Linked DNA regions of Homo sapiens: region 2 is linked to region 1. The links are contacts of gene promoters, found by promoter capture Hi-C in blood cells and fetal thymus (Javierre and others, 2016). All regions are on one chromosome and are shown on one strand. Each heading gives the region's core, a stretch centred on a gene start or on the middle of the fragment in contact. The rest is flanking DNA. Distances are from core to core; before and after follow the strand shown. Region 1 holds the start of ZNF354A (zinc finger protein 354A). Region 2 has its middle 75 kb from the start of RUFY1.

Region 1 (5,581 bases), core at 1,223-3,722:
GTGTAATTCAAATCCAGCAGATGTCTCACTGAGCTTGCATTCTTAACTACTCTGTAAAACTGCCTTTTAATGCCTGCCCCTTAGGGTTAAGAAATAAATGTGATAATCTACACAATAAAGATGGATAGCGATGATGGCTGCACAGCAATGCGGAAGTACCTAAAATACCACTGAATTATACACTTAAAAAGTTAAAATGGTATATTTTATGTTATATATATTTTGCCACAATAAAAAAAGGTTAAAATGGTAACATAGATGGTAACATGCATACACAAACACACACACACAAATAAATGTGTACAGAAAATGATTTATTCGGGCTGGGTGCAGTGGCGCACATCTGTAATCCCAGCACTTTGGGAGGCTGAGGCGGGTGGATCACCTGAGGTCAGGAGTTTGAGACCAGCCTGGCCAACGTGGTGAAACCCCATCTCTAATAAAAGCACAAAAAAAAAAACTTAGCCGGGCGTGATGGCGGGAGCCTGTAATCCCAGCTACTTGGGAGGCTGAGGCAGGAGAATTGCTTCAACCTGGGAGGCAGAGGTTGCAGCGAGCCGAGATCCCGCCACTGCCTGGGCGACAAAGCGAGATTCAAAAAAAAAAAAAAAAAAGAGAACCACTAGACACGGGTGGGGAGGGTGGGTGGTCCTCCCTACAGAATCCACCACTCATGAGGGCGGACCAGCTCCTCCAAGAGAAAAGGACTTGGGCTCCATCCTGGCTGGAGATGGTCCCGGGTGAAGAACTCCAGTTAGTGGGGAAAATCCATCCACTGGGATCTGGGAGGGCAATGAGCTCACCTGGGGCCTCGCTTCCCGCTGCCCAGCAGCCATGTCCTCTTTCTGGCTCTCCCGGGAGGACGGCGCAGTCTCCAGAAGGCAGATCTGAGAAGAAAAAGGGAGCCAGGAAGAACCCCTTCTGCTTTCCAGCCCTGGAATCCGCAGCTCTAAAACCCCGACTCCCGCTGAGAAGGACCCCGCGCGCCCTCACAGGGATTCGGGAGGAGCCAGGAGCCCGCGGACCAGAGCAGCGCTGGGCCGCCCGGCCAGGCCCAGGCCCCACAGGCTTGGGGCTTACGGAGGGGACGCTGGAGCCGCAGTGGCAGCAGCGACCCGCTGAGCCCACCAGGGCCAGGGCTCGCCCCACGCCGCTGAGTTCCTCGGCGCCAGCTGGCACTGCCAGCACCCACTGCACCGCTCAGGAAACTGAGGCAGCGCCGGGGCACCTGCCCCGTTCACGCCGCTGCGAGGCGGGCCGGGACTCCCACCACGACGGCCCCGGGACGACTTCCCTCCGCCTCAAGCCTTTCCCAGCCGGTTCCTCTCTCTCCCGCCAACGAATCATCTCCCGACTCCACGGAAAACGGCTTTTTTTTTTTTGAGGCGGAGTCTCGCTCTGTTGGCCAGACTGGAGTGCAGTAGCGCAGTGGCAGGATCTCGGCTCACTGCAAGCTCTGCCTCCCGGGTTCAAGCCATTCTCCTGCCTCAGCCTCCCGAGTAGCTGGGACTACAGGCGCCCGGCTCATTTTTGTATTTTTAGTAGAGACGAGGTTTCACCGTGTTGCCCAGGCTGGTCTCGAACTCCTGATCTCAGGTGATCTGCCCGCCTTGGCATCCCAAAAATCTAGGATTACAGGCGTGAGCCACCACGCCCGACCCCATGTATCCCATTTCTAACACGATGTTTCTTTTTTGAGACGGAGTCTCGCTCTGTCGCTCAGGCTGGAGTGCAGGGCTTGATCTCGGCTCACTGCAAGCTCCGCCTCCTGGGTTCACGCCATTCTCCTGCCTCGGCCTCACAAGTAGCTGGGACTACAGGCGCCCGCCACTACGCCCGGCTAATTTTTTTTGTATTTTTAGTAGAGACGGGGTTTCACCGTGTTAGTCAGGATGGTCTCGATCTCCTGACCTCGTGATCCACCCGCTTCGGCCTCCCAAAGTGCTGGGATTACAGGCGTGAGCCACCGCGCCCGGCCAAACACCAGCTCTGAAGAGGAAAGCGCTGGGTGTCCCGAGGCGGGAGGGGTGGCCGTCCTGGGGACGGACTCGGAAACCGGGGCCCGGCTGCGTCCGCCCTGCCCTCGGGGTCCCGGTGCCCCGAGTCCGCGAGGCCCACATGGAGTGGGCAGGACGGGCCCGGGAGGAAACGCCAGGCCCGGCGTCCACGGCGAGCCGGACGCGGGTGCACCAGCAACGGCGAGGGAGCGCCCCGCGGGGGGGCGAGAGTCCAGATCCCGGCGCGGGGGCCGGTGACAGACGCGGGGGTGCCCGCCAGCGCCCACAAAGGCTTTCGGAGCCTCGGCAGCCGCAGGCAGTCCCCGTGCCGGGCGCCGCCTCCTACCGGCTTGGCCTGCCGCCGACGCTCACCTCCCTAAGCTCGAGCGTCCCGGGCCGCGCCTCCCCAGCCGCGAGGCTCCGGAACCGCCGGCCGGGATGCAGCCTCGCGACCCGGCTCCGCCCCGACGGCGTCTGGGCGACCTCAGGCCCGGCGCCGCTCACCCCGCGGCGCGCCGGGGACCAGGAGGGGCGGGGCAGCCGCTGAGGCCGCTGGGAAATGGAGTCCACGAGAGGACACCTGCATTCGGGGAAGTGTAGTTCCATGCGTTTGAGGCGGGGTCCCGGCTGAGCTGTTACGCGCCCACATGCCACAAGAGGGCCCCTGTGAGCTGGAGGGCCCCAGGTTCCTGGTTATAGGGAAGATAAGGGGAGGTTCGCTGAGGGCAGTAACTTGCAACTCTGTGTCTGTGGGAATTTCGGGAGGGAGGGCGTGGGCGGCAGGAAAACGGCCCAGAACAGACCTAGTGCCCCTCAGTTATTCACCAGAGGGGCACTGAGCACCTGCTGTGTGCCAAGCACGGTTGCAAGTGGTTTCACATGTATCAATCAATGAAAGAAACGTCACTGCCCTGGAGAACATTTTTTTGGGGGGTAGGGAGCAGACAATAAGCCATACACATAATTATATAACATTTTCGGGGATAAATGTGAGGAGAAACAGGGTATGTGGAGGGGTTTCGTCGCTGAGGTGAGAATGGACGAGGACTCCCAGGAAGTGCCTGAAGCAAAGGGGAGGGAGGTGCCAGCTACTGTGAAGCCAACGGATGTATGTATGTATATGTGTGTGTGTGTGTGTGTATATATATATATATTTTTTTTAAACTAAATCTTCTCAGTTACAAAAAGAACACCGGCTCCATTTAGAAAGTTTGGCGCTTCCCTACTTAAGAATATGCCTTGAACATTTGAATTTGTCAATAAATATTCTCCCTCAGTGGCATTTTTGATAGCTTCATTGCATTCCATTGCATTTATTTTTTTAAAAAAAACGTTTAATTGGCTGGGGGCGGTGGCTCATGTCTGTAATCCCAGCACTTTGGGAGGCCGAGGCGGGTTGATCACGACGTTAGTTCAAGACCAGCCTGGCCGAGATGGTGAAACCCCGTCTCTACTAAAAATACAAAAATTAGCTGGGCGTGGTAGCGGGCGCCTGTAGTCCCAGCAACTCAGGAGGCTGAGGCAGAGAATTGCTTGAACCGGGAGACGGAAGTTACAGTAAGCCAAGATTGCGCCACTGCACTCCAGCCTGGGCGACAGAGCGAGACTCCATCTCAAAAAAAAAAAAAAAAAGTAGTTGCCTCTGAGGAGGGTACTGGGAGCTGGAATAATACTTGCACTTGCTATTTAACACCTTGATATACTTTTCAACATTTTGCTTTACCATATGCATGTATGACATGAATGCTTTTAAGAGAGAAAACAATTTCCAGGCTTGCAAAATTGGCTGTATCATTAGCAATACTTCCAGCACCAACATACAGAAACCTTTGCTAACAGTGGCTTGCATCATGACATTTATTATTTGTTTAAAAAGCGATCTAGAGGTAGGCAGAAGGAACTGACCGCAGTTGGTTTGGTGGCTTGATGACATCAGCGAGGGCTCAGTGTCTTTCCGTCTGTCTGCTCTGCCACCCAAAGTTCTGGCTATGGTCTCCACTCAAGAGCCCAGCATAGCTGCTGCTCCAGGAACCAGTTTTCTCACAGCCACATCCAATATCAGGAAGGAAATTACAGAAACAAAAAGGACTAACTTCCACATGATGATCACCTTTTATTTTCTTTTCCAGAAGCCACCATCCCTTTTCCTCCTCCAACCCATTCAGCTCCTTTCCATCCTTCTCTTGCATTTCATTGGCCAGAATTAGGTCACTTCCTCACCTCTGAACCAATCACAGGGAATTTAGTTCACCTGAACTGAAGCAGCTCCATCATATCTCATCATCTGGAGCTGAGCGCATTGCTCACTGAACAAAATTGGTGTTCTTGACAAAGAAGAGGAGGGCAGTGACTGTTAGGCAGGCAGTAACAGGGTGTACCAGGCAGACTGACTGACCAATTAACTAACCAGCTACCATCCCTTATGAGGAGACAACTGCCAGCCTGTCTGTCAGAATCACAAAGCCTGGAATCTCTCACGACGAAAGGCTATACAATCCTGAGGCCTTGGTCCTATGTTAATTTAGTGTGGATTAATCTTTTGAGATAAGACCATTAGTCATGTGTTGGCATCTGCAAATTAACACTGGCTTCTGGGGAGAAACTCTTCAGGAAGAAAAAAATCACATCACTGCATTTTTCAAAGGTTCAACATCAAAAATTTATCAAGTGTAAAAACCCAGTCTGTTTGATACTGTTAAAATGATTAATATTATAAATAGCTGCTAGAAACAAGGCACATCTGACAACCTGAAGGACTGGAAGGAGAGGCAAACATTTTCCTTTCTGAATTAGGAAAAGCTAGTTTCATTATTTGCATTTTCCCTCATATCATTTTATGTCTCTGGCACATTTCCTAAATCAAAGACTTTCCTGGGGATTCTATTTATCAGACAGGTATTGGCTTGCTTTTCAGCAGCCCTATCATAGTTGATTTACTAATATATCCTATAGACTTTCTGCACAGTTTATACAGCTAAGGCCCATAGTGCCTCGTCATTCCCACCTATTTTAAGTGAAAGGCTTAATGCATAGATGGGATCTGACATATGAGTGCTGCTCACTAGTTCGCTGTCAGAGCAGGTCTGAATAATTAGCACCGGCAGCTCTTCTGTGCAGATATTAATATCTTATATCATAAATGTCAAGCATAGCACAAAGATGCAACCGGAAAACCTCCGAAAGCAAGGGAGCCCATAAATCATGGAGGTTTCACTCTATTTTTCTTCCATTTTACTATCAGAAAATAAACCCAGGTGGTGAGATTTAAAATCCTGCGCACCTCCTATTTATTACTTAGCACGGGGCCTTTCCTGAAGCTGGACCCTGGAGGAAGGGCTGAGGGGGAGGAGACATCTCAGCTGGGGAGGGATAATGATGGGGTGAGGGGAAGTGGAAAACAAAACCTCACAACAGCACTCCCAGACAGTTCTGTGCCCTTTACCCATGGCACCATGTTGCATGCATTTGGGACTTAGAGGCCGATACAGGCTATTGGAGAGGCTGCTTATAAAAAATCCTAACCCCCTGCCCTACTCAGTGAAGAAAATAATCTCTTTTATGGTTGCAAGTGTGAGAATGAATGT
Region 2 (5,739 bases), core at 2,903-5,402, 750 kb after region 1:
TCAATTAGACCCTTTACCTTGTTGCAAGGACAAAGGGCTTTCTGTGTCCCAGGTGTGTACCAGGTGCCTTGGTGTCCCGGAAGAATCGGACCACACGTGGGCTTGGAGAATGAGTGCGAGGTTTTATTGAGTGGAAGTAGCTGTCAGAAGATGGCAAAGCCAGAAGGGAGATGGTTTTCCCCTGGAGTCAGCCACTCAGCGGCTGGACTCTTCTCCGACCACTTCAGCCAAACTCCATGTCATTCCCCCGGTCAATGGCCTGCCGGCGTGCCGGCCTCTGCCTGTGCCTATGGGCGTGCTCTTCAACCCATGTGCTCCTGTCAACGTCCAGCCGCCCGTGTGTTCCTCTGCTGACGTGCTTCTCTGTCCAGCCACCTGCGTGTCTGCCCGCTAGGGTCTCGGGTTTCTATAGGCACAGGATAGGGACGTGGCCGGCCAGGGTAGTCTTGGAAAATGCAATATATGGGCAGGAAAACAAAAATGCCTGTCCTCACCTAGGTCCGTGGGCGCAGGCCTGGGGGTGGAGCCCTAGCCAGGGACCGTGCCCTTCCCTTCCCAGCACTTCTGTATCAAAGCCATAGTACTTTTTACTGTCATTTTAATCTTTGCTGTACCTGAGATGTATCTTCTTTTTCACTCCTGAAAGTTTTGGGGTGTATGTGTGCCTTACTTCTTTTCTTACAGCTTTATTGAGATATATTCCACATACCATAAAATTCACCCATGTGAAGCATACAGTTTAATGATTTTTAGAATATTCACAGTGGTACAACCAACACCACCATCTAATTTTAGAACATTTTCAGCATCCTTAAAAGAAATCCCAGCGACATCAACAGCCACTCCCTTCTGTTTCATTCTCCACCTGAGACTTTTTTTTTTTTATTAGACAGAGTCTCACACTGTCACCTAGGCTGGAGTGCTGTGGCGTGATCTCGGCTCACTGCAACCTCCGCCTCCCGGGTTCAAGCGATTCTCCTGCCTCAGCCTCCCGAGTAGCTGGGGCTACAGGCACCCATCACCATGCCCAGATAATTTTTGTATTTTTAGTAGAGATGGGGTTTCACCATGTTGGCCAGGATGGTCTCAATCTCTTGACCTCGTGATCTGCCCGCCTCGGCCTCCCAAAGTGCTGGGCTTACAGGCATGAGCCACCAGTGCCGGGCCGAGATTGGCTTTTAATTTGTTGCATGTTTGCATGGTTCAAAAGTCAAAATGACATGATGAGGCATAAAATAAGTATAGGCTGGGCACGGTGGCTCACACGTATAACCTCAACACTTTGGGAGATCAAGGCAGGAGGATCACTTGAGGCCAAGAGTTCAAGACCAGCTTAGGCAACATAGCGAAGCCCCATCTCTACAATTTTTAATTAAACTTAGCCAGGCATAGTGCCGTGTGCCTGTATTTAGCCGGGCATAGTGGTGTGTGCCTGTATTCCCAGCTACTCGAGAGGCTGAGGCAAGAGGACTGCTTAAGCCCAGAAGTTCGAGGCTGCAGTGAGCCATGATCACACCATTGCACCTCCAGCCTGGGCAAGAGTGCAAGACTGTGTCTCTAAAAAATTAAAAATTAAAATGGGGTATAAAACTATACAAAAAAAATTCTAACTCCCATCTTCATCTTCCCCACAATTGTCTCTCTCACACTCACATAACCATTTTTATTCATTTTCTGTTTATTTTTCTGTATTTCTTTATACAACTACAACAAGGAAATGCAAATATATTTATTCCTATTTTCCACTCTTTTCTTACAGAAAGGTAACATCATTGATACAGTATCTTGCACCTTCTTTTTTTTCTTACTATATCCTGAAGTAGCTCCTTATTCTTTCTTCCAGTTGTGTTTCATGTTTATTCAGCCAGCTCCCCATGGGCAGGCCCTTGGCTTGTTTCCAAGCTTTTACCATTACAAACAGTGCTGTAGTGTATAACCTCGTTCATGGGTCATTTTATACTCGTGAATATCTGTCTGTAGAATAGATTTTCAGAGGTAGGATTGCTGGGTCAAAGGATAAATACATTTTTTTGTTTGTTTGTTTGTTTTTTGTTTTTTTTGAGACGGAGTCTTGCTCTGTCGCCCAGGCTGGAGTGCAGTGGCACCATCTCAGCTCACTGCAAGCTCCGCTTCCCGGGTTCACGCCATTCTCCTGCCTCACCCTCCTGAGTAGCTAGGAATACAGGTGCCCGCCACCATGCCTGGCTAATTTTTTGTATTTTTAGTTGAGACGGGGTTTCACTGTGTTAGCGAGGATGGTCTCGATCTCCTGACCTCGTGATCCACCCGCCTCGGCCTCCCAAAGTGCTGGGATTACAGGCATGAGCCATCGCGCCCGGCCAATACATTTGTATTTTTTATAAGCAATGCCAAACTGCTCTCCATAAGGTTTGTACAATTTTGTATTCTCCACAACCAAACCTGTTTCCTCACAGCCACACCAACGATGTATTTTACAATTTTGGATTTTTGCCAAATTGAATTGCGCAAAATGATGTCTAAGGGCAATTTAATTTGCATTTCTCTTATTACAACTGGGGTTGAGCATCTCTTGATGTTTAAGGATCATTTGCATTTCATTCTGTATGAACTATTTCTTTCTTTTGCCCATTTTTTCTTTGTAGTCCTTGGTCTCTTTCTTAGGAAAGTAAAAGCTATCTTTATCTATTACTGCATGACAAACTACCTCAAAACCTAATGGCTTAAAGCGACATAATTTATTATTCCTCAGGATTCTGCGGGTCGAGTGGGCACAGCTGGGTGGCTCTTGCTCTACTTGCTACCAGCTGGGCTTACTCACTCGGCTACATTTGGCCGGCAGCTTGGCTGAGCTGGATGGTCCACCAAGCCTTCACTCACTTGTCGAGTGCCTTTGTGCTCGTCTGCATAGCCACGTCACCTCGGCTGGGGCCTCCTCACAGCGTGGTGGTCTCAGGGAAGTCAGCCTTCTTACATAGCAGCTGGCTTTCAAGAGGGAGGAAACAGAAGCTGCCAGTCCTCTTAAGGCCTGGATTCCAACGTCAGGAAATGTCACTTCTGCATTCCTTTGGTCATAGAAAGTCACAAGGTCAGCCCAGATTTAAGGAATAGGAAATAGACCCCACCTCTGGGTGGGAGAAGTGGTGTGGGCTGCAGGGAAGGAACGCACTGGTGGCCGTCGGGGCCAAAGACCGGGGATAGACGGGGAGAGCGGGGGCAGCCGCTGGCATCACCGTGAGCCTGTCTTAGCCCTTGGGGGCATCGTGAGGTTGGATTCTTTAAAGACAGGGCTCCGAGGGTTGGGAATCTTGAGGGCTATAACAATACTAAAAACTGAGGACACGCATACATTTCGTTGTGATTTTCGGTGGAGGAACTTAGTGAAGGTGGTGTTACGGGGTCGGGGAGAAAATGTAAAAGCTTGGCCGTGGGTGGGTTGGGGCCGACCCTTTCTCCCACCGGTTTATGGCTGGAGAAGGTGGGAGATGTCAACTCCATTTAGGGGACTGGAGGGACCTGGACAGTTTTGAAGGGGAATTTGAGAGTTGAATTTGAGTGTGCGCTTGTAAAGGACTCAACCCTGCCAGTCGCGGTTCAAGATCAGGGTTGGCTGTAGGTGGGAGGCCGTGCAGTTCCTGGGAAAGCTAACTCACCGCGGTGTCTTTTCTGTCTCACGCCGAGAAGAGCCCTGTTTGTGCTCCGCTACTGCCTGGAGTCTCCAGAGGACGCAAACGGGCGAGGGGATGTGTGGGGAGAAGTACTTGCTTTTTCTTGCTTTCTTCTTTACAGAATTTGTTCTTTTCCCACAAGGCCACTCTAGCCACACCAGGAGCTTTCTCAGAAGCAGTCACAATCTTTTTCCTTTTTTTGTTTTCAGACAAGGTCTCACAAATGACAAACAACAAGACAAATGACAAACAGGCAAAAAAAAAAAATCTTTTTTCTTCCAAGATAAAACCCAAATTGATTCAGCAGACATTTTGATTAGGAAATCCTATAAATCAGGACCACTCTTAATTTCAGACACTCCGTTATGAAGTGTACATCTACCTCTAGGGGATGAATAAGCCATTGAATCTTTTAAAAACTGGCTTTTTAAAAACTGTTGCCGAGGCTGGAGTGCAGTGGCACAATCTTGGCTCACTGCAGCCTTAAATTCCTGGGCTCAAGTGATCCTCCTGATTTAGTCTCCCTAGTAGCTGGGAGCACAGGTGCATGCCACCACCATGCTGGCTAATTTTTTTTTTTTTTTGAGACGGAGTCTCGCTCTGTTGCCCAGGCTGGAGTGCAGTGGCATGGTCTCGGCTCACTGTAACCTCTGCCACCCAGGTTCAAGCGATTCTCCTTCCTCAGCCTCCCAAGTAGCTGGGATTACAGGCACCTGCCACAGCGCCTGGCTAATTTTTGTATTTTTAGTAGAGACGGGGTTTCACCATCTTGGCGAGGCTGGTCTTGAACTTCTGACCTCGTGATCCACCCCCTGCTCGGCTACCCAAAGTGCCAGGATTACAGGCATGAGCCACCGCGCCCCGCCTAATTTTTGTATTTTTGTGTAGAGATGGGATCTCATTATGTTGCTCAGGCTGATCTCAAACTCCCGCCCTCAAGCAATCTTCCTGCCTTGGCCTCTCAAAATGCTGGGATTATAGACGTGAGCCACTGGGCCCACCTAAACAATCTCTTGAGCCTCTCTCCCATCCTCCCAGCCCAACTTTCTTATTCCATCCTTGCTGGTGTCTGTAGGAATGGACAAGAGACCCTGGATGTTTTTCTGCTCTGTGCTGGCCTCTGTGAAGCTGTGGGCCTCAGGCTCTGCACATCCTCCCCGTGCGGTTTGTCTCCTTCTCCCATGCAGCTGTTCTTTGTGACCGAAGCTGGTTTTAAAATGTGGCTTTCCCCGAGGAGAAATCACAGGCTTTGCCCTTTGAAGCTTAATGGTGTCTTACGAAGGTCCTACCCCCAAATGCGAAGGTAGCAAAGCCAGTTTTTAAGAGATTCAATGGCCTGTTCATCCTCCAGATGTAGATGTACGCTTCATAACGGAGTGTCTGAAATTAAAAGTGGTCCTGATTTATAGGATTTCCTAATTAAAATGTCTGCTGAATCAATTTGGGTCTTGTTCTGGGAAAGAAAAGAATTTTTTTGCCTGTTTGTCATTTGTCTTTTGACTTTGCTTATGTTTGTGTCTGTGTGTGCATGTGCACGTAGGGTTTTGTTGAACATTTTATTTGGAAACAATTATAGATTCACAGAAGTTGCAAGGATAGTATCGAGATGTCCCCATTTACACTTCACACAGTTTCTCCCAGTGACAATATCTTACATAACTATGGTACAACATCAAAACCGGGAAAATTGACATTGGTGCAATGTGCGTCATCTTTTTTTTTTTTCTTTTTTGAGACAGAGTCTCACTCTCTCGCCCAGGCTGGAGTGCAGTGGCGCGATCTCAGCTCACTGCAACCTCTGCCTCCCAGGTTCAACCCATTCTCATGCCTCAGCCTCCCGAGTAGCTGGGACTATACGTAGCCCGCCACCACACCTGGCTAGTTTTTGTATTTTTAGTAGAGAAAGGGTTTCACCTTGTTGGCCAGGCTGATCTCTAACTCCTGACCTCAGGTGATCTGCCCATCTCAGCCTCCCATAATGCTGGGATTACAGGCGTGAGCCACCAAGCCCGACCCAATGTGTGTCATCTTATCATATGTGTAGTTTCATGTAACTATTACAATCAAAATACAAAACTGTCCCATTGCCACA

Evidence for each region. The method cuts DNA at HindIII sites, captures the fragments that hold promoters and counts their contacts. A CHiCAGO score of 5 or more calls a contact.
Region 2: a contact is called between a fragment that was not itself captured here and the fragment with the promoter of ZNF354A in region 1, in 1 of 17 cell types (endothelial precursors). The highest score is 5.7, in endothelial precursors.

What each region holds. Positions count from the first base shown.
Region 1 is chr5:178,728,187-178,733,767 of GRCh38, forward strand. ZNF354A (zinc finger protein 354A) reads right to left here and starts at 2,473. Exons shown (of 5, transcript NM_005649.3): 1 at 2,370-2,473; 2 at 804-887. The coding sequence starts at 836. RefSeq lists silencers at 2,013-2,242, 2,313-2,652. The HindIII fragment of the contact is 10,949 bases long and covers 1-5,581 here.
Region 2 is chr5:179,472,517-179,478,255 of GRCh38, forward strand. No RefSeq gene overlaps it. Among named protein-coding and RNA genes, the nearest start is that of RUFY1, 75 kb to the right of the region's middle. RefSeq lists enhancers at 1-369, 370-869. The HindIII fragment of the contact is 1,510 bases long and covers 3,398-4,907 here.